Regions from separate parts of the Homo sapiens genome. Here all the other regions are linked to region 1. The links are contacts of gene promoters, found by promoter capture Hi-C in blood cells and fetal thymus (Javierre and others, 2016). All regions are on one chromosome and are shown on one strand. The core of a region is centred on a gene start or on the middle of the fragment in contact, and the rest is flanking DNA. Distances in the headings are between cores, read along the strand shown.

Region 1 (4,084 bases), core at 555-3,054:
TGATTTACCCAGTAAGAGTAGGTCTTTAATCATACCATTAATTCCATCATTCTCTTTACATAGCACATAAATATATTTTCAATGTTTATCTATTTTCTTTTTCCTTTCCTTTTAATGTAAATTCAACCAGAGTAGGCACCTTGTCTGTTCTGGTTTCTTCAGAAGTTCCAGTCTCTCATATGGTAGGTGCTTAATTTTGGCTAAATGATTGCTGTACACGATCAGTAAAAAGTATCTGCTTGTTATTGAATGGTGGGAGATAAACTGATGAGGCAAGTAGGTGACTAAAGTGAAAATGTAAAGATATCTTGAACATCAACTTGATTAGATTTTAATAGCATGAACACCGCCAAGCAGAGTTTCTGATACAGAGAGGTGACAAACATTTGTTGAATGACTGGACAATAAATATTATTACTAGCTTGAATCTTGAGGCAAATTACTTAACCTTTCTGAGCTTAGTTTCCTTGTCTACGAAGATTAAAACTAACTTTTCAAGGCTTCCCTACAAATTATATGGATAATGCATGTCATGTGCCCAGCACACAGCAGGTACTTGTTAGTTTCTTTCTCTTTACATACATATATACTACTTTATGGTTTACAAAGTTCTTGTAAGCTCTTCTAGATTCATGACCTCATTTTATTCCCACAATCTTCTGCAGTACTTCTCATTAGCCTCATTTTACAGATGAAAAACAGACTCAAGGATTGAGACATAGCCTCTTCAGGTAATGAGAAGCCAATGGACATGCTTTATAAGCATAGGAGCGACATGATAAAAAGCAGTGAGGTTTTTTGAAGATTAATCTGTTGGCCTATAAAATGGGCTGAACTGAAAATTGGAGAAATATTATTTTGACTACTAGCATAAAAATCAAGTTTAAGGGCCGGGCGCAGTGGCTCACACCTGTAATCCCAGCACTTTGGGAGGCCGAGGCGGGCAGATCACTTGAGGCCAGGAGCAGGAGACAAGCCTGGCCTACATGGCGAAACCCCGTCTCTACTAAAAAATACAAAAAATTGGCCCGGCGTGGGGCTCGTGTGCCTCCCAGCTACTCGGGAGGTTGAGGCACATTTAGAATCGCTTGAACCCGGTAAGCGCAGGTTGGCAGTGAGCCGAGATCGCGCCACTGCACTCCAGCCTGGGCGACAGAGCGAAACTCGGTCAAAAAAAAAAAATCAAGTGTAAGATGATAAGGGCCTGGCAGAAGTGTTTAAAAGCCTAATGAACTTAAAAATATTGAAAAGCCAGATAAGTCCCCCAAAGGAACAAAAATTTAAAAATGGTAGTTTTCAAATCTGGCTGGCTGAGAAAATGATGGTACAAACAACATAAACAATTGAGAAATCAAACTTGGCAAAATCGTTGGTCAGAAGACCTTCTCTCCAATACCTAGGCAGAACTTCTGGCAAATAATGACAAACATCTGAGCCATTTCTTCAGTGTCATAGCGACTTTTTGCTTTCACTCCTCCCACTGGCTTCACCACCTGGACAAGAGCATGTTAAGGTCCTTCTGATCTTGCTTCCTAGATGCAGTACGGTGGGAAGCAGAATCTGGGTAGTGTGGAATTAGAAACCAAGCTTTCGAAGTTCCAGGACTTGGACTAAATCGCCTTTTTCCTTCTCTGTCAAATAAGGGGACCCTTACTTCACCTCCTTCCCTAGTTTTAAGACTAGACACCCTCTCCACATCAGCACAAAGCGCTTTTATTTAGGCGCGTGCCGCCAAACCAAAGGCGCTCGCGCCGAGCTAAGCTCCTGTCGGTGAGCTTACGTCACTTCCGGCGCGCTGACGCTCAGTTGTGCGTGCCGACGCCCGCGTCAGCAAAGAGCGGAGCTGAGGGTACCCGGTTTGAAGTCGTGCGGGTCGGAGGACTGCCGCCTCCGCTACCGTCTTGGACCCCTGCTTACCGGCCGCCGCGGGGACGAGCTCGGGTAGGCGGCAGGGCAGATGCCCGAGGGCCTGCGCTGGAACGCCCCACGCCGCACCGGCCGCTCCCCTGTGCTCCGCGGCCTGGGCCTGCGCCGCTCAGCTCTCTGGAAACTAGCGCCTCAGCTGCGCGGCGCGTAGGTCGCGGGGAGCTCCGAACCGCCGGCGCCCGGCCATGGCGGTCTCCAGGTGGGTCTTGCTCCTGACGAGCAAACTGGAAGGCGATTCAGGGAAGGCATGGTCTCCTCTTAGAGCCCCCACTCCTAGAGAAGAGCGGTTCTCATTGTCACTGGGCTCTGGAGCTTTCTTCAGTAGACTTCGGAGTTCGCCCCGTGGTCGGCGGGGGTTTGGGCTCGGGTTACTCCTGGGTAAATCGGTTCAATAATGCCTTTTTCTTGTTAATAGACCCCTTGGCACGTTAGAGCTGTTTTTTCTCTTTCCTCACCATGTTTCTGTTCTCTGGTTTCTCTTCCCTCTTTCGATTCTAGGGGAGTCTCTTATCTTTCTCAGTATTCTAAGGCTGGTCCCTAACCTCCATTTCATGGGAAAACTTGGTAGTTACTGTCGATGGAGGGGAAACCTGAATTACTATTATCTAAGAGACCGTCTAATTATGTTACCAGTTTTAATTTACGTTTTTAGGGGTATGTTCTTTCCTGAGATGTTTTTTAAAATTAAGTATAATTTCTCCTTTTGTTTGGCAGTAAACATTCCAACGTCAGCGTTGTAACCTTAAGCCAATTATCGTATTAGCATCATTTTCCGTAACTAAGGCGTGGAAGATAAATCACAGATCTTATATTCTTTTGAAATATTGCCTGTCAACAGGAAAGCCCAGGAAAACTATAGAAAAACTAACGACATTTATTTGTATAGCTATAGGAGAAACATTACTTTTTCCTCCGGTATGATAGAATGGTTGGAAAGCTTTTGTAAGCGGAATTTGGTGACCCTCTGTACATGTAATTAAGGGATAGTTCCTCTGTGATAGTGATCGGATGGATTCACCAAGTTCCTTAGAGTTGATATGGTAACTTTTAATGAGAATTGGATTCTTTTACCATATAGACTGAAGGAATAAATGATGAAAACAAATAGTTTTCATTTTTTTATAATTAACTGAACACATTCTTTGAGCGTATTAAGTGCACAAGTTTTATCTGTTTTGCAAGGGAAAGGATAACCCATTCCTTACAGACTCCCTAGATGACTGATGAAATAGTGTGTGGGAGAAGCCCATGGGAGTTGGGTGAAGGGGGTTGCTAGGTACCGTAGTATGGGGCATCTGATTTTTATTTTATAATCTATTCAATGTGAGGAAATTTTTTTTTAAATAAAACTGCCTTGAGAGAATACAAGTGACATTTTACATTTTTGCAAATATAGAAAGGTGTATCTTCTAATTTGTTACCTCCCATATAAATGCATGAATATATACATTGTAAATGCATTGATATGTAAACTTAATATAACATTTATCAGGTAATAGTGTTTAAGGAGATGAGTACTTCTTTTCTTAGAGCAACCTGTGCATTTTCACAGGATTGGATGTAGCTTTATAAAGACAAAATGAAAGTGTTTAAAAAGAACCTAATTTTCGGGCAACGCTAATCTCTTTTTTTTTTTTTGAGAAGGAATCTGGCTCTGTAGCCCAGGCTGGAGTGCAGTGGCGAGATCTCGGCTCACTGCAAGCTCCGCATCCCGGGTTCAGGCCATCCTCCTGCCTCAGCCTCCCAAGTAGCTGGGACCACAGGCACCCGCCACCACACCTGGCTAGTTTTTTGTATTTTTAGTAGAGACGGGTTTCACCGTGTTAGCCAGGATGGTCTCGATCTCCTTACCTCGTGATCCGCCGGCCTTGGCCTCCCAAAGTGCTGGGATTACAGGCGTGAGCCACCGCGCCCAGCCAACACTAATCTCTTTACGGAATTTTAGGACAGTTAATATTTCTCAATGACTGAGTGGGTTTTGAAGGTACTGTCTTTTGTTCTGGATGTTGTGTTTCAAAGAGTAGCACTCTTTTTCTGTGGATTTTTTTCTCGTTCACTTTTTTAAAAGCCTGTCATGTTTTTATGGAAGAGCTATTTCTGTGCTTAGTTTCCTTGGGCTCAGTAGTAAGCCCAAGGAAAACATTTTGAGACACTTGTG
Region 2 (3,670 bases), core at 272-2,771, 680 kb before region 1:
TAAAAAGTATAAAGTACTGGTGTTAATGTTCCTACTAAAAATTTAAAATTACATATTTGACTCACATTATATTTCTATTGGTCATCACTTATATAGACAATAGAAGGAAGATGGAGAGCTCCATGAGGGGAATCATTCATTCAGCAAATATTTACTGGATGCCTGCTGTGTCTGGGCACTATTCTAGGTGCTTGAGGTCCATTCGCAGACAAAATAAAGATCTTTGCCCTTGTAGATTTAATATTTTTGTAGTGAGAGACAGTCAATAAACCATATAATAAGTAATTTATATGGTATGTTAGAAAGTGAAAATTGCAAAGGCAAGAAAGAGGAAAGTGTTGTGAGGTGAGGAGGTCAAGAGTGTGAAGTGGGGGCAGATTGCAATTTTAAATAAGATGGTGATGATAGGCTTCTGTGGGAAAGTGAGACTTAAGCGAAGACTTGGAGACTGTGAGAGGTTAACCATGGATAGGTCTAGGAAAGCATGCCTATTCCAGGTAAAGGGAGCAGCCAGTGCAGAGTGCCTAAGTCAGGAGTGTATCTACGCCTTGTTGGACGACCAGCAAGGAGACCTGGGCGGCTGGGGAACAGTGAGTGAGGGACAGAATACTGGGCAACAAGAGCAGAGAGATCATGAGATTCCAGATTATGAAGGGCCATGTAGGCCACTGTAAACATTTTATCTTTTACTCTGAATGAAATGGGGAGCCTCTGCAGGATTTTGGTTGGAGGATTGATCCGATATGAACATGTTGATGACTGTGTTGAGAACACCGCGCGTATAACAAGGCAAGGGTAGAAGCAGGGAGAACAGTTAGAAAGTAATTGCAATGACCCTGGTGAGCGGTGGTAGCAGTAGAGGGGACAAGAAATGCTCATATTCTGAATATATTTCGAAAGTAGATCCAGCAAGGTTTGCTGGTGGATTGGATATAGGATATGGGATAAAGAAAAGAGTTGAACATGACTTTAAGATTTCTGACCTGAGCAACTGGAAGAATGGAGTTGCCATTAACTGAGTTGGGAAGATTAATAATAGAGCAAGGAAGGGGTAGATCAGGACTTCAATTGTGGACATGCTGAGTTATTCATTTCAGAGAAGAGAGGAAGGTAAGTGGATATATGTGTCTAGAACTCAAAGGGAGAGGTCTGGGCTGGAGAAAAACATTTGGTAGTCTTCAACATATAGAAGGTCTTTCAAACTGTAAGCAGGATGAGATCACTTCAGGGAGTGAGTACAGAGAGGCACGAGTAAAGGACCAAGGATTGAGCCCTGGAGAACTCCAGCATTAAGTGTTCAGAGAGAAGAGGAGGAGCCAGCACAGGAAACTGAGAAGGCACAACCAGTGAGGTAGAGGAAAATCCAGGAGTGTGTGGTGCTCTAGAAGTCAAGTGAAGATAGTATGTATATCAAAGGAGACGGAGTGATCCACCTGTGTCATTTGTTGTTCATGGGTACAAGTAAGGTGAAAACTGAGAATTCATGGTTGGATTTAGCAACATGGAGTTCATCAACTTTGAAAAGAGCACTTTCTTTAGAGCTGTGAGGCCAAAAACCTAACTGGGTTGTTTTAAGAGAGGAAAGGAGGGAGAGGAATTAGCAACAGTGAGTATAGTATTGACAACTCTTTCAAGGAGTTTTGCTACAAATGGGAGCAAAGAAATGGGGTGGGGGGGTGCTGTCAAGTGCAGCCAAGAAGGTTCTTTATTTTGTTTTGATATAGGAGAAATAATGGCGTATTTGAAGGGAATGATCCAGTAGAAAGCAGAAAGTTAATCATGTGGGAGAGTAGGGAATGCAATCTCACAGCCTAAGAGGAGACACTGGTTTTCAGTGGGAGCATTGACAAAAAAAATTGTAGCAACAGGCAGGCAGACAGCGAGTACATGGTGCAGATGCTATAGGTAGGTATGGTGGCCGGGGCCTGTGGAAGTTTGTTTTTCATTGCTTTGACATTTTTCATTGAGAAGAAAGTGTTTGTCAGTCAAAATTAAGGATAGAGGAAAGGGATTTGGAGAGTTAGGGCGAGAAAAAAGCGTGTTGTCCAGGGGAGTGAGAGGATCAGTGCACTTGTGAGTGTAGTATGATTCCTGGCAAACTTAAAGGCATGTTTGTGTTGTAGTTAGGAATTTGAAGGAGTATGGTTGTGTTTTTATCCAGCCATGGGTGCCAGTGCAGAGTTGATGGAAAGTTGGATTTAACCTGAGTTGTACTAAATAATTTTGAGCAAGTAAGAGAGAGACAAATCAAGGGTACATGTAAGGAAGTGATTTAATGACTGACCATAGAACAGATTAGTCCTAAATTGGGCTGGAAGGACAGAAAGGGCATCAAAGTAGTAAGTAATGTTTCAGAGGAAACAGAAATGAAACTAAGTTGGTTCCTGATCTGTTTGTATGTAGTGAGAAGTGCTGTTTTTTATTCACTCCTACTATTAAATAGTCTGGGAAAACTTTACGAATGACCTTGTCTTGAAGAATAAGGTAGCATTGGTTTGGTCGGAGAGTACAGAGAGTATTTGAGCCAGGATGTAAAACATGAGGGAGAAAAATGAATTGGAAAAGACAAGGAATTCTTGGGATAATTGAATAAGCCAGTTGGCTAGAGAAGGGAGACAGTGAGCAAATAGTACCAGTTATGGTTTGTAGGTTGGACTCAAGTTATATAAACACATGAAGTCAGGTAGTAGAGAGAAATTAGTCCTTGAGCAGGGAACTAACACAATCAGATTAGCACTTTAGGAAGATTGATTATGAACATGTCTCTGCTCTGCTCAAAGCAGAATGGTAATTAATTGAAGGAATGGAAGAATTGTTGGGAGAATAGGTGGGACAGATATTGAGAGGGAGCTCTGAATGTGGCTTGGTGAGTAAATGTGTAAATGAAGGGAAAGAGAGAAGTTAAGATCATTCTCATATTTTGAGCTGATTTGGAAAAATTATGGTATCACTTAAAAATTTAGTTTAAAAAAAGCGAGACAATGACTGGGCTACTTAGTATTTTATTGGAGGAGGATAGATGAGACAATCTTGACATAGATTAATAAAAGGAGGTACTTGAAATGTTTAGCATCTGTTGGAAATATGGAACTTGAAATCAGCAGAGATGTGATATATAGTCAGGCAGATAGATAGATGGATAGATGGATAGATAGATAGATAGATAGATAGATAGATAGATAGATAGATAGATAGATAGATAATCTGCCTATATGTTAGTTTTGAAGCCACAAAAGCAGATGAAATCCACAAGGAAGACAGAAAAGGTCAAAGAGTTCAGAGTACAAAGCAAGGGAGAATATCAGATTTAAAAGTAGCTGGGAAAAAGAAAAATGCTTAGTAATAAAGAAAGAACAGACTTGAACATTAAAAAAAACAAAGGAAATTTTCAGGGAGGCAGGCAGTGTTAGACAACACTGTCAAACTGCTGCAGAGCAATATAGAAGAAATATAAACTTAAAAAATAATTTTTAAGTTTAAATTTTAATTCTAAAAATTTTAAACCTATTCAATATGGAAGTTATAGATGATTTTGAGAATTCAGTAGAGTAAAAGAAGCAAAACAGAGTATGTGACAGAAATAATGTAGGTTTTATTTTCACATTTTTTTCCAGTTAGAAGGAAAGATTGAGAAACAGAATAATAGTTTGAAAAGAGTTAATGAGTTGAG
Region 3 (4,087 bases), core at 12-2,511, 720 kb before region 1:
TCTTCTCACTAATGCCTTTGCTGACACCTTGTTTTAAATTTCAGTCACCCTCCTTACCTACCCCTAGTACCCCTACTCTCCTGGAGGTCACCCCAAACCACTATTTCAGCATGACCATTGGCAAAGCAGCATCACTGGCTTTCTCTCTAGAAGGCAGACCTGCCTACGGGCTGCAGAGTTCAAGCTTGTCTCTGTCCTTCGATCTTCTTGGGAGTTTTCTGTAAAGGCCCTGATTAGTGGCAGCACCATGGGAATCTCCCTGGCCTATTCAGTAGCATTGAATCAATCCTGAGTTTAATTAGCAGCAATTGCCAGGATGACGTTTTGGCCTTGTCATACCACGGGGCAGTACCTCTTAAGGATTGGATGTAGTTTTGTGCAATGAAGAGCCCTTCTTCAGATGGGTTATTTCTACCCCATGGTCTTTGGCTGAGTGTGTTTCGTATTAGTCTTCTTCCTTTTCTTGCCAGGCCATTCTTGTTCTCCTCCTCTCTCAGATGTTCTTCTCTTTCATCACCCTCTGTGATTGCCTCATCTGAGTTCTTAGCTTTCAGTTTCACTGGCCATGCTGACCTTTTATGTATTTATTGTTTTTGTTCAGAAACTGAAACTGCATCACATACATGCTGGTTTGTATCTGTCTCTCCCATTTTATTAAAAGCCTAGTTTTTTCTTCTGTGTCTCTACCACTTTCTGGGTCTTACAGCATTCAAGGGATCATCCCTGCTTCCACAAGCAAAGTTCCAGAGTCTGTGAATTTTATGACATAATAAACAAGTAGAAAATGTACTTGTCACAGGTTGGGTTCCCTGGGAAGCTGACTCCCAGGTGTAGTTTTGTATCCAGGATGTTTATTAGGGAATGCCCTTTGAAGGGTGGGAAGGCAGCAAGGGGGGCAGAAAAGGAGTTGAGCTGTAGAGCCAGCATGGCAGGAGCTCTGGAACTAGAATGACTCCTCTGAGTTGTCTTGACTTGGGCCAAGATGGCCAGGCCTTTATACTCCAGCATCCCTCAGTCCTTGCATCCTTGGGAAAGTGACCTTGGGCAAGGAGGATCTTTGCAGCTGAGGACATGCCTGCAAGAGGCCAACAACATCCCCATCAAGTGCAGCCCAAAGGCTTCTCTGAAGAGGGATCTGATCTCTGCTTCCCAGCATCTTCCACATTAATGTACGTGAAATTCAGCCACGGCTCCAAAATATGATGCAGTATTTTAGTTAAGAAGTAACATTCAAGGCTAGTTTTAGTTTAATACTGAAATTTGATTGAGTTCATTGAAATCCTAGGATGTTAGAGTCCAAAGAGGCCATAAAAATCCTTTATGCAACCCTCTTGTTTGACAGATAGGGAAGTGGAGTAAATAAACAAAGGAGAATAAATTTTAGTGTGGTTTCCCCAGAAACAGACCCCAAGACAAGAATTTGAGAGTAAGTGGTTTAGTTGAGAGGTTCTCCCAAGAAATATCAACAGGAAAGTAGAGAAGTGGGACAGGGAGGAAAAAGAAAGCAATAAAGGGTATAGTTTCAAGAGAATTACTGCTGTGGGCAACTGGAGCTCAATCCGTTTAAGGAACTCTAGGAACTAGTCTACACGCTTCAGGCTATCCTACCCAAAGGACAGGGAAATTGGGTTACTTGCCCATCAACTATCCATCCTCCTTGACTGAGGGCTGTTTCCTGGAGATGCTAACTTCCCTGCATTTTTGCCTCACTGTGGGAGAGGGCCCAGCCTGCTCCCAGAGCCAGAATAAAAGCCACAGGTGTTCAAGAAGGCTGCCTTCAGCATGTAGAGATGAGCGTGGAGGAGATAAGAGGGAGGAGGAGACAGTGACAGTGTCTGCTATAGGGGATTGCCTGAAACTGAACCAGAACTCTGGTATCCTGACTACTGACCAGGGTTCTTTATGCTGATTATTAATATCTTCCTACTCGGTGCCCAAAATTGTTCAACTAATCTAGTTAAGAGAGAGTGAGGGTATAGAAAGAACAGGGGATGTAGCCCCTTTCTGGGAAGTGCGCATATATGTTTGAAAGAAGAAGAGAAGATTTTATAAGCATTAATATCAACAGGTATGGATGAGATTGCATTGAAAGCTGTGCATTGCATTTGTCATTGTTGAGGTGCTGCTATAAGGGACTGTGCCAGAAGGGAAGGTGCTGTTTGTTTTGTTTTGTTTTTAAGATATTGAGTCTTGAACACAGTCTCAGTGGGAGATTTGAACATAATTGGCAGAGGCTGAGAGGCAGGATTGTGTACTGGTGAAGAGTTGGGGGCCTTTCTAGTGGGCAATCTAGTTTATCCTATATTCATCACTTTGTGGTCATTGGACAGTGGGCAAATTAAGCTTTGGTTTCTTCCTGTATACGGTGGGGCCAATTATAGAACCCAATTCATAAGGGTGTTGAGAGCATTCAATGAAGTAATTGATGTAAAAATATTAACCTAGAGCTTGCTGTGTAGGAGGTTGATAACATTAGCTGTGTTCGTGATTACTGTTGACAGAGGGAAGTGGAAAGGGGGAGGGTCAGGTGGGAGAATGGTCAGAGCTTGGGCAAGCACAAGATTCAAGAGGCAAATGGAAAAATAGTGTGAAGTGGAACTCCTGAGACACCAGGGAGGTGATGGGGAAAGTTTTATAAAAGTGAGAAGAGCTGCCCACTTAGACCACATTTTCATGGGAGCTGTCTTAGTTTGTTTTCTGTTGCTACAGCTGAATACCTGAGACTGGGCAATTTATAAAGGAAAGAAATGTATTGCTTACGTATCTGGAGGCTGGGACATCCAAGGGTGAGGTATCTGGTGAGGGCCTTCTTGCCGGTGGAGACCCTCTGCAACCTTCTGAGCTGGGCATCACATGGTGAGGGGCTGAGTGTGTCAGCTCAGGTCTCTCTTCATGTAAAGCCACTAGTCCTATCATGGTCCCCCCAGTGACATTACTAATCTTAATTACCTCCCAAAGCCCCACCTCTAAATGCCATCAACGTATGAATTTGAAGATTAAGTTATCAGCACATGAAATTTGGGGAACTCATTCAAATCATAAACAGGAGCTTAGGTCCCATCAAAGTGAAAGCTTACCAGGAAGCCCAATGTGTAAAAAAAATACGTAAACAGAGTTATGTGTTTGAAGGTGGAGTGGAGAACTATCTTCTCCCCTCCTCCCTCCACCCACAGCCCCTGAGGGAATTCTGAGAAACCCCAAGGCAGCAAGAACAAAAACAATGTCTGCAGAAAGATTTTTTAACACTACTGTAACACCTCATTTGTTCTGTATTGAGTTCATTTTCCAGAAAACCTTTTTTTTTTTTTTTTAAGAAACCCATCTTGGATGAAATTTTGTTTAAGTGTGTTACTTTTTTGCCTTCTTAACAAGGCTGAATGAAAACCTTTTAATCTGTTCTTGATGACTTTTGATCATAGTGATGAACATTTAGTTAAGGTTCTGTGCTTTAATGTGGTGATTTCCAACCTCAGAGTTTCTGAAGTGTTAGGACTGTTTACTGGCACTATGCTTTTGAAATTGTTAGAAGAAGCAGGGTGGCATCAAGGGAGGGTCCTGGACTTGGGAGCTACACTGTCCAGGATTATATCCAAGCCTTGCATTTTATTAGCATTGTGACCAGGTGTAACCACTGTTTGCCTCAATTTCTTCTTTCCCAAATTGAGAAGAATAATTGTACTCACCCCCTAGGATTATTGTGAGAAATAAATAAGTTTTTATATGTTCACTGCTTAGAACCATGCCTTCGTATAAAATGTGCTGTATAAGTGCTATGATGATGATGGTCGATGTATCTGTTTTTATGGTTCTTCTGTCTTTTTTGATGTAGTATGGTGGTTAAGCCTATAGACTCTGAAGCAAAATAACCTGGATTTGAATCCACCACCGTTGTGATCTGATTGTTTTAAGCTGATTAATTTTTGTGAACCTAATGATTTCAGTAAAACCCACCATTGTGACCTTGAGAGAGTTAATTTAATTCCCTGTGATTCAGTTTATTCTTCTGAAAAATGAGGCAAATAATACAAAGTAGTTAACAGGATTGTTGTGAGGATTAAATAGGATAAATTTGTAAGCTCTTAGCACA
Region 4 (3,705 bases), core at 600-3,099, 660 kb before region 1:
AAGAGGCGAAAACGTAAATTGCTTTTATATTTACCTATGTGTTTATTTAGTTATATACCATTATGTTACTCAAATTTAACAATATTAGAAACTAAAAAAGACAAACTAGCTTGGGAAGGAGAAGAAACTGGTTTTTCTTGCTACTGTTTCTCCTAGCACTCTGATAATTGGTCCTATGTATAAAATCAAGGTCTGTGGTAAATGTGATTGTATTAGATTTAAAGTGAGATTAAAACCCTATCTAAATATGTTCAGGACTCTACTAACCAAGACAGAGAAAATGACATATTTTTTAAACCCAATAAGTTGTTGGAACATTTATGTATATGGAATGGGAGTGGGGGAAACTTAAGTTCTCCCCTAATATGATTAATGGTTGATAAGGGTGTTTATTTTTGGTTGTGGTAGAGGGGACACATAGGGTAGAATCTAAATAATCTTCTTTCAGGTACCTCCTTTTCGTTGAAAATATAAACTCGGACTTAAGGGTAAGTGAGTTTGCAGTGCTTTCTGATGCCAGAATTAGATTATTGTGCCTTAGGCCCTAAGCATATGGGAGAAATGATTCAAAGGAGAAAACCAAAGAAAACCCAAAAAACCCAAAAGGTGAATTTTGTATTTTGAACTATGTCTTTGATTCTGGTTAATTCTGTAGGACTAATATATAAGACTGAGATATGAGACTAAGGAATACAGTAGTAACTTAGGTTCTACTAAGTTCTATAGTAGTAACTATAACTTAGGTTCAAGCATGGGATATTAGGCAAATTTGAGGTACTAGGGATTGTAGGACTCATATATGACACTAAGGAATATAGCAGTAATGCTATCAGAAATTATCTTCATAATCTGAGTGCATAAATAAATAAATATGAATTAAGATTGGCTATAAGGTTGGAGTAGATAACATCTAAGATTATCTTTTGGACATTAAGATTCTGTGTTTATGATACAATATGCCATACTCTGTGTAATTTATTCTGTAAACTAGATTTATTATATTTTCTCATGAAAATGTAAATCATAAAAAAAAACAAAATTAAGAAATTTGACCTCACACAAGAATAAGAAATAAGAATCCAGATATAATGAGGGTTGCCATGTTACCATATTTCCAAAACATATTTATATTGAATGTAAACATTTGTGGAATTATTATAAAACAAGCCTCAAAAACTCATTGTCTTATGGGTAAGATATTTGGCTCTTTGCAGAAGAAATGTCTTGATATCATATAATAATAAATGAAGCACCTACATTTGTAAATCAGAAGTTTTTTTCCTGCTTGAGATGTAGTAAAAGCCCTGCTTAAAGCCTTCTTTGTGAGACTGAACGCTTTCGCTAGCAGCAGGAAGAAAAAATTACATTCTAACACCAGCCACCAAATAGTGTGTGGCCTTGAAGAACTTGTCATACATGTTTGTGGCTCATATTTTTAAAGATCTAACTACCTTTGTATTTGGTAAATTAACAACCTGCCTTTCTGTAACATTTTATAATGTTTTAAATGATTGTACATACATCAATCACCCTCAGTTAATCCTTACAACCAAAATGTTCCAGGTACCAGGTACAGATTGCACAGGTAGTAAATTCTTTCTTACCCAATACTGTTGAGGAATGGATATTATGATATTACACATAATATTGTGTTGAATGTAACTTCAGCTTTCTTTGATAGTTTAGCGGGCATTGCAGTGTGTTTTAGTGACTGAAATCATCGTGATGAATAGACTTGCCTTAAGGTTAAAGAGATGTAAGTGGTCATCCACTGCACGACCTCTACAAGTGGCTCACTTGTTCTTTACAAGAACTCCTCCCAAAGTTGCCCCAGCTGCCATTATTTTAATGTCAAAGTATGAAAGAGCTAATTTATAGACATTTTTAGTAAGAGACTATGATTTAAATCAGTCCTTACTCTAATTACCTTTCTGATTACATATTTGTGAATAGTTTAAATTTTTTGGTTGTTTAAGGCATATTTTAATAAAAGTTCAAAAAGTGATTCAGTAGCTATGGTTTATCATTCAGGTGGAAACTAAACCAATAAACAGAAAAATTACTACCTTTTACATTTAGTGCAACAGTAAAGTAATATATTAGCCCATTTCATTTCTTGGTGTGACAAACCTGTTTTTTAGTTGCTTTCCTTCTCCAAACCTGTTTCACCCTCAGTCATCACAACCTCAATAGTTCTAAGATTGGTAGCTCCATTTTTCCAGTTGCTCAGACCAAAATCCCTGATGTCAGCACTGATTGCTGCCTTTTTCTTTCATCCATCCTTTCTTAGCAAATTCTGTAACCTTCACCATCAAAATATACATTCAGAATCCAGCTATGTCTCACTACATCCACTTCACTACTAGTCCAACCCACCATCGCCATTCTCCTAGCAAGGCTCTGTGCCACCACCCTTGTCCCACCTCTATCTTCACCTCACACAGCAGCCAGCGTGATCCTCTTAGGACAGGTTAGAACATGCCCACTCCGTTCTCTGATTCCTCCAATAATGTTTAATTTAGGTAAAATTCAGAATCTTTCTAGAGACCTACATATGTGGCCCCCATACAGTCTTCCCCAGATACTCTGTCTCCTCGTTTATTCTGTCTCCCTGGCCTCACAGCACTCCAGCCACACTGGCCTGTTTTCTCAACCACACCCCACTTGCCCTCACCTCCCCTGGTATCCACCTACCTCGTTTCCTTTACCCCCTTCACTTAAATAATTTTGCTTCTACCTCACCTTCTCAGTGAGGCCTCTGACCTCCTCTAAAACTACAACCCCCTCTCCCGATGGCATTCTTACTCCCTTTTCATGCCTTATTGTTTTCCATAGTATTTCATACCACCTCCGGCATATTATGCCTCTTATTTATGTTTATTGTTTGTCCTCCAAGTAAAATATAATCTGAGGACAGGGATTTTTGTTTGTTCACTGCTAAATCTCCAGCACCTAGGGCAGTGCCCAGCATATATACTCAATCAATACTTGTTCAAAGAATAAATTGAATGAAAATGTTATCTTTTACAAGGTAATGGTTATGCAAAATATATCCTACAGATAATTTTTATTTATCTGAATCTCAGCTTCCTTTTTTTCTGTTAAATTTTCAATTTTTGTTCAACTTCCAATTACAAATTATTATAATATTAATAGATGAATTCTGACAGTTGAGTGACATGGACGAATGCAGCAGTATCACTAAAACAATCATTTCTTGATTGAGCTCCTGTAGCATATTGTTGTGATCACATCCCTTCTTATTTAATCATCCACTGCCAGCAAGATGCCAGGATGTCTGAAGAGCTCTTATTAGTCTACCTATTGGCTAACTAGCTCTGCCTTGGGCTGGAGTCAGCTTATTTCCTAAACTAATGACCACTATGTGGTTCTTTTTCTTGTTTCTATTGCTTTTTTGTATTAAACATTTTAAGCTACCCAAGATTAATTTATTTATACAAAAACACAAGGTTAAGATTCTAATTTATTTCAAATTGTTTTTAAATCAGAAATACAATGTATTGAATATTGAATAATCCATATTTAACCTTATTGTTTTGAGATGTCACCATGTCTGTGCGTATGTGTGTATATGTGTGTGTGTGCATATGTGTGTGTGTGTTCCTAGACATTGTTTTGTTCTTGTGAGCAGGTCTTACTCTGTACCAGCATTACACATCATCTACCTTTTATAAAGATCTGGCC
Region 5 (4,183 bases), core at 476-2,975, 760 kb before region 1:
AGAAATTTGTTCTCTTCCATCACAACTTTGTTGAAGAATTAGATACCCCAAACAATGCTTTTTCTTGGTCCCAGTGAATCCCCCTAAGGAACTACTAAAATTTAAGCTGGTAGAGTTGACACCCTGTAGGCTGAAGAATAACAGATAATTTGAATATCTTTAACTCAATATTTTTGGCCCTTTGAAATTTAAATTAGTAAAATTTTACTATATCAGAACTTGTAACCTAAACAGTTGACTATAAAATACAGGTTTGCTGATAATTTTTCCTGCTCCCTTTCTCCCCTGGAACTTCACAGTATGCTAAGATTGCTGAGGACTGGTGGGGGGATCCAGGGCTAGCAGAAGCAGGAAGCAGGAAGCAGGAAATGTAGAGAAATTGGAGCTAGAAAGATAACTGAGCACTTCTTTAAACAGCAGACTAGAGGAGCACCATATCTTCACAGATGGTGTTAAACAAGCATCATAAGACATAGCTTCAAATAATGCAGGGAACATACAATTAGGGCCACAAAAACTTGGGGTACCAGTTCTAGTTCTGGTATTTACTAGCTGGATAGCCACAGGAAGTCATAATTTTTTTTTGCCTATATTTAATGAGTACTGTCTATATGCCAGGCACCTATAACATGTCTATAATTGACTGAATGTTCATGGCTCCCCTCAAATTCATATGTTGAAATCCTACCCTCCAGTGTGATGGTATTGGGAGGTGGGGCCTTTGGGAAGTAATTAAGTCATGAGAGTGGAGTCCTCATTAATGGGATGACTGCCCTCATAAAAGGAACCCCAGAGAGCTCCGAGGCTCAGTGTCTTTTCACTATGTAAGGATACCATGAGAAGTCAGCACTCCAGAGGAGGAAGAAAGGCCCTCAGCCAACCCCTGACTGTGCTGGCACTCTGATGTCATACTTCCAGCCTCCAGAACTGTGAGAAATGAATGTTTGTTGTTTAAGCCACCCAGTTTATGGTAGTTTGTTATGGCAGTCTGAACTGGGCAAGAGTGTTTTACATATGACGATATTTCATTCTCATGACAACCCACTGAAGTAGATTCTATCATTTTTCTCTATTTTATAGATAAGAAAACTTACCCACAGATAATTCAAGGTCAGATAAACTAAAATTTGTTAAAGTAGGGATTTGAATACAGGTAGTCAAACTCTAATGCCCATGTTTAATCATTATGATATCCCAGGTATTAAGTCTTTTGGGCTTCAGTTCCCTCACTTAAAACTGGACACGTTGCACCAAACAATGTTGAAAATTCTTTCTGGCTTTAAACACTATGATTCTAATTATATAAATCATATCTATATTTAATACGCTCATGGTTAATCTGTGTTTCGGAATAGTCTCAGAGAACTGAGAGCTGAAGACAAGTTTCTGAAATATGGCTTCATTTCTTAGTTATCCCTTGTTTCAGTCAACGTAAACCACATAATTTACTCTTCCACCAAGAATACCCTTCCTCCATTTCCATCTGTTGAAAATCTATCCATCCTTCAAGTGCCAGCTGAAATGCACCTCCTCTAAATAGCCATTCTCAGTCTTTGGGGATTTAAAGTGCGGATGTATTAGACTGTTGGGCGTTGGGATTTGGGCGAAGTATCTGTGCTAATGAAAGGAAAAGATGTAGGATAAGAAGAAAGGTTGCAGGGAACCACGTACAGGAAAGGTAAGAGAACCGTCAGCAGTGTTGTTGGTGACGGGCACAAAGCCTTCCTTGTGACAGGCAATAGCAAAGTCACCAGATTATATTAAATGTTGCCCAGCTAGTAGGAGTGAGATGAAGATTAAATGAGAACGTTTGTAAAATATCTACTACACTGTCTGGAAGGGCAGCAACAGGATAATTCCTAATCTCTTCCTTCCATAGGCAACTGGTCATCTCCTTCATGCTGAAGAAAGCTGCCATCCTGCCCAGGGAGGAGTAGGACAAGAAGAGGGGAGAAGAGACTCTGGGGGGGAAAAGAAGTCAGGCGGAGATATATGGGAACACAAAGAAAAAACGAGAGCCAGAGTACACAAGACGAGACAGAAAAAAGAAATGTAAGGGAGTGACGGCGAAGAAGAGGATAGAACGGTAATGGAAGCAGAAGGGCAAAGAGGGACAAGTAAGAAGGAGAGAATTCTAGGCCTCGGGAAGAGAAAGTTCCTGCTGCACTGCGGAATCCGGCCTAAAGGAAGAGGCAACCAGGTGCAGCACCCAAGCCCAGGTGCCAGTCATTTGCCGCTGGGCTCTCAGACCCATTCTCCTTTTGCGGCTGTCACATATTCTGTAGGGATTCTGAGCCCTGCCCTCTGTCATCTTGTCCACTGGCTTCTCCTGCTTTCCACCACTGGGTGGGCTTGGAGGGTGGGAGGCAGGGAGAAGCCAGGGGGACTCTCATCCCCTACTTTGGAAGATGTCTGCCGCAGTAGTTGCACTAACTTTGTGGCTCCAACTCCTATTGGACAAGCCCTCCAGGGTTCCGGCTGTCTCCTCTCTTTGCCCCTCCAGCCTCAGGGGAGAAGGCACGTCCAGCAGTTGCTAATCTCAGGATTGCCTCACCTTACCCTAGTTGAACGTCCAGTTCTTTCAACACTTGTAACTAATTTGCTGCATTAAATTATTGCTATTGACTCGCTTGGGAAAGAATACTTTCGCTGGATTCACTTGCAGAGTTCAAAGACACTTTTCCTAATGGGACTGCAAGCAGCGCATCGGAGAAAAAAATCTAGCAGTCCCAGGAGTCAAGAAGGGTCAGGGTCTACTTCAGTGTGTGATCAGACAGCGACAAACCCACACTACCTAACAGGGCCGGAAGGCTCTTAGCCTAGGAATTAGCTGTAAAATGACTGGGTTCATGTCTACTTTTTCATGATTTACTCTATTCTCTTTGATCACCGCCAGCCTTGGCTTAAGGAACATCTCTGTAGAATTCAATTTTATTCCTCAAGGGTTACTTAAGTGCCCATTATGAGTATGGAGGGCACATAGCTAGGTGTGGTGGGGAGGAGATATAGAGACGCAGGAAAAATGGAGGGCATGCTCAGTTTTTGGAAGTGTTTGCTTCCTGCAAGATGAGGTTTGCGGACCTATCAGGAGAGCCTCTTGATAAAGACTCCTGAACTTTTCCAGTCTCACCAGAGCTGCAGACACTCGGAGGCAATATTAGTCTTACAGCTTTCATTTCTCCCATCACCAGAGCTCTGTTAAAAGCAGACTCCTCTTTAAGGAATCCACAGATCAGAGAGGGTACAGCACATGCACACAACTGACCCCCAGGTCAGAATGATGCCAGCCACAAGGGGGGATTCTGCTTGGGGGAGCAGGAAGACTGCACAGAGATGGTAGGAGACGGCTACAGGAGCTGAGTCCAACAAAGTTTGACAGGTGGAGGCGGCTAAGGGGTATTCTGGCAGAGAACAGAGAAGGATCAAAATAAAGTGTCAAAGGACAGACACATTTCAGGTGTTGTCTGTAAACGGAGGCTTTGGGGTGAGGGTAGGGAAGTGGAGGGGAGACTGAAAAATGGAGGCCCAGCTATTGAGGACTCTGAGAATGAGGCATTAAGGCTCGAGGCCATGGTGAGTCACTGGAGGATCTTCAGCATCAGGGCGGCAAGGTCACTTCTGGTGGGGTGGCGGGGGTGGGGTGGGGTGGGGGGACTTTGCGATTAGAAGCAAAGAAGCTGGAGGCAGGAAAAGAAACTGCGAGCTCTCGGGTGGAGGGCAGCTTATACGGGAAGCCTGGACTTGACCATCGCCAGGGAGGCATACTGACATTCGAGCTGCCTTCCATCTATTCAAGGGCACGCTTCCTCCGTCTGTGGGGGGAGAAGGTGCCCCCTCAGAGGCTGTACGATTCGAAGTCTCCGGCCTGAGAAGTTTCGAATTTCTCCTTGCCAAGGTCGGGCCACTACAGGTGGGAGACTGCGAGCCCCGAGCGAAAGCTTGGCTTCACGCCCGCCCGGGGCAGCCGCCGCGGCTCGTCCCCTCCAGGCCTGGGCACCGCCGTGGGCCGTGCCCGGCAGGACGCTCCGGGAGCTGCGCGGCGGCGGCTCGAGGAGGCCTGGCGGGCGGCGGCGAGAGGCTGTGCCCCAGTTTGTGTCCAATCAGGGAGTGCGGGCTGTGCCCCGAGCCGGGCAGCAATGCGTAAACAAACCCACGGTAACTCCTCCGCCCCCTCGGCGCGCTC
Region 6 (3,679 bases), core at 1,169-3,668, 920 kb after region 1:
GAGCTCTAAAACTCTTTAAGAAACATTTGAATGATGTAAAGTTTTGCGAGGATAATGATAGGGTTCCCAGGGGTGAGGAGGGGAATCTTTTTGTAAATGTGTACCCTACCTCTAAAAGCATGCATTTGGCCGGGCGCGGTGGCTCACGCCTGTAATCCCAGCACTTTGGGAGGCCGAGGCGGCGGATCACAAGGTCAAGAGATCGAGACCATCCTGGCCAACATGGTGAAACTCCATCTCTAGTAAAATACAAAAAATTAGCTGAGTGGGCCGTCGCGGTGGCTCCCGCCTGTAATCCAAGCACTTCGGGAGCCCGAGGTGGGTGGATCACGATGTCAGGAGTTCAAGACCAGCCTGGCCAAGATGGTGAAACCCTGTCTCTACTAAAAATACAAAAATTAGCCGGGCGTGGTGGCTGGCACCTGTAATCCCAGTTACTCGGGAGAGAACTGCTTGAACCTTGGAGGTGGAGGCTGCAGTGAGCCGAGACTGCACCACCGCACTCCAGCCTGGGCGACAGAGCGAGACTCTGTCTCAAAAAAAAAAAAAAAAAAAAAAAAATTAGCTGGGCGTGGTGGCACGTGCCTGTAGTCCCAGCTACACAGAAGGCTGAGGCAGGGGAATCACTTGAACTTGGAGGGCGGAGGTTGCAGTGAGCCGAGATCGCGCCACTGCACTCCAGCCTGGTGACAGAGCAAGACTGTGTCTCAGAAAAAAAAAAAAAGGAAAAAAAAGAAAAACATGCCATTTACAACATTAAGCTTAATACGACAAGTATTTGCATGTGGATCATTCACTTATTAATTGAGCCTCTACTATATGCAAGGCACTGGGCTGGGCAGTGAACAATACAGGCATCGTCCCTGTGCCTGATGTAGGAGCAGTTCCTGGAAATGGAGACAGACTCAGTGATTTGTTCACCACCATGATATGTGCTTCCAAGGATGAGTGAGCACTGCTCCCAAGGACAACGAAAGGTGCTTGCCTTAAAAGCGCAGGATCCAGAGGGTTCACTAAAATGGGTCTGGAACCAAGAATCCAACCCAAAGACATGTTCCTGTTTCCCTCTCTACAAAAGCAGGAAACATATTTCAGTTGGTTTACATCCACCAAACATGCAGAAAACCCTGATACACAATCAGGTTTTTTTTTAATGATTAGGAAAAAGAACATTTATGTGTCTGGTTTTTATTTTTATTTTATCAAAGAGGAGGCTAAAATGCTGGGCTCTCTGGCTTACTAGCAAATGCCTGATAACCCTAGTCGCCAATGCTAATGTTGATTGAGCTCTAGGCTAAACATAATACATATATTATCTTCTTTAATCCTCACATAATTTGGTGAGCTAGGGATTCTTATTGTCCTTAATTCACACTTGAAGAACGTGAGCCTTAGTCAAGTTAAGTAACTCCCTGAGGCCTGACATCTAGTAAGAGATGAGTTGGAATTTGAATTCAAGTAGTTAAATGCCAGACCAGAGCAGTTGCACTCTACAACCTCATTCTGAGGGAGGCGCTTTCCCAAGACAGGTCATTAGTCTGTAGATAAAAGGCGCAAAGTTAAGTTCCTAATGACTAAGAGTTTATTTACAAGTCAAATCCTTACTTTGCCAATTACTTTTATACTGGACACAAAATGCATCTCCTGTCCTGCTGGTCTTCCTGGTGTATCTTTCTTCTTCCAGGAGTCCTGAAAAGAGATTTTGGATTGATCTCTGGAAGTCAATATCCACTGCCAAAAAATAATTCCACATGCATCTGCAATCTGCCTGTCTGTGCCCTGCTACTCCGCAACCTTCTCAGTGCAGACGTTAAATCATTCACTCCTTGGGGCTGGGCGTGGTGGCTCATGCCTGTAATCCCAGCACTTCAGAAGGCCAAGTCAGGGCAATCACTTTAGGGAAGGAGTGTGAGACCAGCCTGGCCAACATGGTGAAAGCCCATCTCTACTATAAATACAAAAATTAGCTGGATGTGGTGACATGTACCTGTAATCCCAGCTACTCAGGAGACTGAGGCAGGAGAATCGCTTGAAAGCGGGAGGCAGAGGTTGCAGTGAGCCAAGATCGCACCACTGCACTCCAGCCTGGGCAACAGAGAGAGACTCCATCTCAAAAAAAAAAAAAAAAAAAAATCATTTATCCCTTGGATAGGCTTCCCCCACCCCACATTGACATATTTGATATATCTATGTCCATGATTAAAATGTACAGTTAGGGCCGGGGACGGTGGCTCACGCCTGTAATCCCAACACTTTAGGAGGCCGAGGCGGGCAGATCACCTGAGGTCGGGAGTTTGAGACCAGCCTGACCAACATGGAGAAACCCAGTCTCTACTAAAAATACAAAATTAGCTGGGCGTGGTGGCACGTGCCTGTAATCCCAGCTACTCCGGAGGCTGAGGCAGGAGAATCACTTGAACCCAGGAGGCGGAGGTTGCAGTGAGCCAAGATCACGCCATTGTTACCCAGCCTGGGTAACAAAAGCGAAACTCTGTCTCGAAAAAACCAACCAAACAAACAAAACAAATGTGCAATTAGTTATTTAGGACATTTAGCTTTGAATTCTTAGCTAAAACCTCCAGGTACTCACGGAACTGTCAGAAGTCTCAGAGGGAACCAGCAAAAACTGTTTCAGAAGGAGAAGTGGTAAATGGACTTCCTTCCATGTTCACTTGAATTTCGGGGAAGATACTGCTGCTTATGTTGAAGTAATCTCTATGGGCAGGTGTTGAAACAGGGCTGGCCTGAGGAGTGCCTAAGCAGGGCTGGTTTCCCAGAGCAGGGGCACTTGGAGCCAGCTTTGGAATAAAAGGTATCAGGACTGGTGAAGAAAAGGGGTAGAGTTCTAGGGAAGGAATGATCAGGAAAGTAATTCCCCAGCTGGAGACATTGGTCAAATAGGAAACTGGCCTGTGCCACATGCCCTGCTCTCCTCATTTTGCTCATTATCATAGTTCACCGCAGCCTCGAACTCCTGGGCTCAAGCAATCCTCCTGCCTCAGCCTCCCAAAGCTCTGGGATTATAGGTGTGAGCCACTGTGCTCGACCTAAGAAGTTCTTGAGAGGGGAAAATAACCTTTTGAAAATTGAAACTGAAACATAAAAAAAAGAAGACAAATTTTATCCCCTCCCACAAAAAGAATGAAAAGCTAGGTCTCTCTGCAGGAAATGGAAGACTGTCTTAGCTCAATGGATGTGTATAGCTGGAATCCATTGCTCTGAAGATTCCAGATTAATAGGAAGGAGGGCATTAGCAATGTTTTATAGGGCCCTTCCTAAGTTTGGTAGGCAGTGGGTCCCACTGATGCTCACATTCTAATCCCTGGAACCTGTGCATATGTTATTTTTACATGACAAAGGGGGTATTGCATATGTGATTAAGGTTAAGGACCCTGAGATGGAAGATTATCCTGGATTAAATGGTTGGGTCCACTCTAATCATATGGGTCCTTAAAAACTGAGCATCTTTTCCAGCCTAAGTCAGAGTCAGAGGAAGATGTGACCACAGAAGAATGGTCAGAGAGATGTAATGCTGCTAGCTTTGAAGATGGAGGAAGGGGGCCACAAGCCAAGGTATGTGGGTGGCCTCTAGAAGCTGGAAAAGGCAAAGAAACAAATTCTCCCGCAGAGTCTCTAGCAAGGAACACAGACATGCTGACACCTTGATTTTTAGCCCAGT
Region 7 (3,952 bases), core at 1,322-3,821, 940 kb before region 1:
AATATAGTCATGCTTTGCATAACGATGTTTCAGCCAACAATAGATCACATATACTATGGTGGTCTCATAAGATTATACTGGAGCTGAAAAATTCCTCTTGTCTAGTGAAGTAGCCGTCATAACGTAGTACACAATGCATTATTCATGTGTTTGTGGTGATGCTGGTGTAAACAAACCTACTGCACTGCCAGTCATATGAAAGTGTAGCACATACAATTATGTACAGTACATAATACTGGATGATGATAATAAACGACTGTGTAACTGATTTATGTATTTACTATGCTATCCTTTTTATTGCAATTTTAGACTGTGCTCCTTCTACTTATAAAGGAATAAAATTAACTGTAAAGCATCCTTGGGCAGGTCCTTCAGGAGGTATTCCGGAAGAGGGCATTGTTATCATAGGAGATGACAGCTCCATCCTGTTACTGCCCCAAAGACCTTCCAGTGGGACAAGATGTGGAGGTAGAAGACAGTGATATTAATGATCCTGACTCTGCGTAGGCCTAGGCTAATGTGTGTGTGTCTTAGTTTTTAAAAAAGTTTAAAAAGTAAAAGACAATTTAAAAATTTTTATTAGAATAAAGCTTACAAAATAAAGATATAAAGAAAGAAAATATTTTTGTTCAGCCATAGAGTGTTTGTGTTTTAAGCTTAGTGTTATTACAAAAGGTTCAAAACTTTCAAAAAATTTAAAAGTTTATAAAGTAAAAAGTTATAGTTGGCTGAGTGCGGTGGCTCACACCTGTAATCCCAGCACTTTGGGAGGCTGAGGCAGGTGGATCGTGAGGTCAGGAGTTCGAGACCAGTCTGGCCAACACGGTGAAACCCCATCTCTACTAAAAATACAAAAATTAGCCAGGTGTGGTGGTGGGTGTCTGTAATCCCCACTACTCAGGAGGCTGAGGCAGGAGAATTGCTTGAACCCGGGAGGCAGAGGTTGCAGTGAGCTGAGATGGTGCCACTGCACTCCAGCCTGGGCGACAGACCAAGACTCTGTCTCAAAAAAAAAAAAAAGTTATAGTTTAATTTTTAAGGTTAATTTATTATTGAAGAAAAATTTTTAATGAGTTTAGTGTAGCCTAGGTGTACACTAGGTGTTTATAGAGTCTACGATAGTGTACAGTCATGTCCTAGGCCTTCACATTCACTCATCACTCACTAACTCACACAGAGCAACTTCTGGTCCTGCAAACTCCATTCGTGTTGAGTGTCCTATGTAGGTGTATTACTTTATATCTTTTGTACTATATTTTTACTGTATTTTTTCTTTGTTTAGAAATGTTTGGATACACAAACACTAGTGTGTTACAATTGCCTACAGTATTCATTCAGTACAGTAACATGCTGTTGCAACCTAGAAGCAATAAGCTACACCATATAGCCTAGGTGTGCAGTAGGCTACACCATCTAGCTTTGTGTAAGTACATTCTTTGAAGCTTGCACGATGACAAAATTGCCTAATGACACATTTCTCAGAACATAACTCCATCATTAAGCTACATAACTTAAACCCCTGCTATGCAATGAAACTCAGGTAGCATATTAAAAAATAGATAACTCAAGCATTGCATACAGAGAAGCCATTCTTGGAACACCAGACAATAAGCATTGCATTAGATCAGAGCAGTTCTGGGCACATCTATGGTCAACAAGAAATATTCTCAAAGTCTGAACTTTGAGCTATAGTAGACAGACAAACTAAGAATTCCTCAAAGTTAGTATTTCCAACCGTGATGTAAGAGTCTATTCTGAGTGTTGTGACAAACTATCTCCAGATCTCGCTAGAGTAACACAATAAAGGTTTGTTTCTCACCCATCACAGTCGGGTATGGCTGTATGAGGGAGGCGTGAGGAAGGATCTGCTCCTCGCCCATCACAGTCGGGTATGGCTGTATGAGGGAGGCGTGAGGAAGGCTCTGCTCCATGCATTCATGGAAGTGGCCTTGATCACCAGCCTAGCACTTCACTGGCAGGGCTCAGTCAATGACATCTAGTGGCTGGGAAGCTCGGAAATGAGCTTTCCTTTGTGCTCAGAAGTAGGACTTGGGCGAACACATAGCAGTATCTCTGCTCCATCCACATAAACGGGCTCAGAACTTAAATGGAAAGAGACGCTGAAGAGGGCATCAAATATATGAGAACTGGAACAGGGAAAGGAACAAAGATCTGAACAGGATCAGATAGAGATATTTGCCTACAGACAAGTCCTTGGTTAAAAGACCGTGGAAATTGATTCTAGAACTATATATTATTTATGGCTTGTGGGACGCAGAAATGTGTTCTGGTTACCTGTGCAATAAACTGTACATACTTCTCATTTCAGAGTTGGAGTCAATCACTCTCTGTTGGCCTTTTTTGCTGTCTTTACAAAGTCATGGGTTAACGAACCCTACTGGGTACTTCTAACATGAGGTGTCTGGGCTGGGAGAGTCTTACTGGCAATTGATGTCAAGATTCTTCGTCCAGAGGCACAGAGCAGAAAGGTTCTTGGTCCACAGACACCTTAAAACAAGGCCACCCTGGCCAGGTTTATTCCCGTCTGGCGGCCTACACATTTCTTATATCCTGGAAAAACTGGTGAGCAAGCAAGTGTCGACCTCAGAGTCTCTGACAGGGCTATTTTGAAACCACACACCATGAAAACTCTCAGGGAAGTTAAAAAACAAACAATCATAACCAAGGCAGTTTAGCTGTTTTGAAAAGAGATGGAGCTTCATTACTTCAAACCCAAATTTCTGCAAGCCTGACAACCACCTTACATCAAAATAAACGTCTACCTGCTAGCTGAAATGTTTAAAAACACAGGTGAGCTCTATTCTCTGAAATACAAGCCTTCTCTAACCTGAGAAATGTAAATACCTATGAAGGTGGGTCCATGAAGGGGAGGTTGATGAGGATGGGCCTATGTAAGAGTGTGTGTCAAGGTTGTTACTTGTATTTGTGTTACCCTGTGGATGTGTGTGTGTGTGTGTTTGTGTGTGTGAGAGAGAGATTCAGAGCAGGAAGAGGAAGGCAACTCACATGGATCCATGTTTTTCGTAACACTGTGTGAAACTCCAGTTAATTGACTGTAAAAAAATAGGAACCCACAAGTAACTGACATTAGTACCGCTGAAAGGCTCCCAGAAGACCTAACTCTTGCTGGCTCCATAATCACAAGCACCTGCAAAGCTCTGCCTTGGTGAGGAGAGGGCAGAGCACACCTGCTAACCGACATCTGCCTGGAGGAAGGAAAGACAGAGCTTCAACCCTGAACACAGAGTGCTGGTCTCTCTTATGTGCTTGACTGTCATGCTCAGTTGCATTGTGCATGAGTCTGCCTGTCAGCCTGCACTGAATTTTGCAGCACTGTTCCAGGGTTTACTATCTGCACTCTGTTCCCAAAGACCTGTTGCCCCTACCTGTGTGCTCCCGGAGGAATCTGGTTTCTATAACAACAGACCCCATCACCAGCGTGGTGCACAAGGCCACCTGCCAATCCATTCTGATTAAGCCCAGCCCTCAGCCTGTCCCCTCCAGACCTGTCACACCAATTCCCATTCAGGCACCAGCACTGATCATCAGTATTTCCCAAGAGTGGAAAGGGGAAAATAGAGACTCAGTAAATATATGTAAATAAAAGCAGAGTTTTCGTAAGCCATTCTAATCTTGATATAGTTTGCATTTCCTTCACTGTTGCTTTATAAAAGCCCTCTTAAGCTTGCAGCAAGAAGAATAGGAAGTCAGCTGTCAATTAGCTTACTATGATGTTTTCTCAGTCATATTTTGAAAGAGAAGTTGAATTCAACATTTTCCAAAAATCTGCAAACAGCAGCATGCTGCATTTATGGAGATGACACCTTTTGTGGGTTTTTCTCTTTCATGGGTAGGATTTTTCGGAGAGACCACACTGGGAGAAGAGAATAGGTGAGGAGTTGCTCTGTGAGCTTGCTGCAATCTGGAAGGA

The links. Contacts are between HindIII fragments. The CHiCAGO score rates a contact against its expected background, and 5 or more counts as called.
Region 2: a contact is called between a fragment that was not itself captured here and the fragment with the promoter of BTAF1 in region 1, in 1 of 17 cell types (fetal thymus). The highest score is 6.1, in fetal thymus.
Region 3: a contact is called between a fragment that was not itself captured here and the fragment with the promoter of BTAF1 in region 1, in 5 of 17 cell types (naive CD8 T cells, total CD8 T cells, activated CD4 T cells and 2 more). The highest score is 7.0, in naive CD8 T cells.
Region 4: a contact is called between a fragment that was not itself captured here and the fragment with the promoter of BTAF1 in region 1, in 1 of 17 cell types (naive CD4 T cells). The highest score is 5.4, in naive CD4 T cells.
Region 5: a fragment that was not itself captured here is called in contact with the fragment with the promoter of BTAF1 in region 1 in 4 of 17 cell types (naive CD8 T cells, fetal thymus, naive CD4 T cells and 1 more); the score reaches 7.9 in naive CD8 T cells.
Region 6: a fragment that was not itself captured here is called in contact with the fragment with the promoter of BTAF1 in region 1 in 2 of 17 cell types (naive CD4 T cells and non-activated CD4 T cells); the score reaches 5.5 in naive CD4 T cells.
Region 7: a fragment that was not itself captured here is called in contact with the fragment with the promoter of BTAF1 in region 1 in 1 of 17 cell types (fetal thymus); the score reaches 5.5 in fetal thymus.

What each region holds. Positions count from the first base shown.
Region 1 is chr10:91,921,966-91,926,049 of GRCh38, forward strand. BTAF1 (B-TFIID TATA-box binding protein associated factor 1) reads left to right here and starts at 1,805. Exons shown (of 38, transcript NM_003972.3): 1 at 1,805-2,125. The coding sequence starts at 2,112. RefSeq lists enhancers at 547-1,080, 1,428-1,537, 2,148-2,347 and a silencer at 1,788-2,087. The HindIII fragment of the contact is 1,276 bases long and covers 1,586-2,861 here.
Region 2 is chr10:91,243,820-91,247,489 of GRCh38, forward strand. The region is part of intron 3 of PCGF5 (polycomb group ring finger 5); the gene reads left to right. Among named protein-coding and RNA genes, the nearest start is that of PCGF5, 25 kb to the left of the region's middle. The HindIII fragment of the contact is 9,970 bases long and covers 1-3,670 here.
Region 3 is chr10:91,198,429-91,202,515 of GRCh38, forward strand. LOC124902480 (a long non-coding RNA gene) reads right to left here and starts at 50. Exons shown (of 3, transcript XR_007062240.1): 1 at 1-50. It also overlaps a transcript of PCGF5 not described here. The HindIII fragment of the contact is 2,159 bases long and covers 183-2,341 here.
Region 4 is chr10:91,264,508-91,268,212 of GRCh38, forward strand. It overlaps PCGF5 (polycomb group ring finger 5), which reads left to right. Exons shown (of 10, transcript NM_032373.5): 8 at 1-13. Among named protein-coding and RNA genes, the nearest start is that of PCGF5, 46 kb to the left of the region's middle. The HindIII fragment of the contact is 5,208 bases long and covers 1-3,705 here.
Region 5 is chr10:91,158,675-91,162,857 of GRCh38, forward strand. It overlaps a transcript of PCGF5 not described here. Among named protein-coding and RNA genes, the nearest start is that of PCGF5, 60 kb to the right of the region's middle. RefSeq lists silencers at 3,804-3,893, 3,994-4,183. The HindIII fragment of the contact is 4,422 bases long and covers 1-3,936 here.
Region 6 is chr10:92,843,441-92,847,119 of GRCh38, forward strand. It overlaps a transcript of EXOC6 not described here. Among named protein-coding and RNA genes, the nearest start is that of EXOC6, 3.2 kb to the right of the region's middle. The HindIII fragment of the contact is 3,318 bases long and covers 760-3,679 here.
Region 7 is chr10:90,980,911-90,984,862 of GRCh38, forward strand. The region is part of intron 3 of XLOC_008559 (a long non-coding RNA gene); the gene reads left to right. LOC107984252 (a long non-coding RNA gene) reads left to right here. Exons shown (of 3, transcript XR_001747547.2): 3 at 310-366. Among named protein-coding and RNA genes, the nearest start is that of XLOC_008559, 36 kb to the left of the region's middle. The HindIII fragment of the contact is 2,263 bases long and covers 1,441-3,703 here.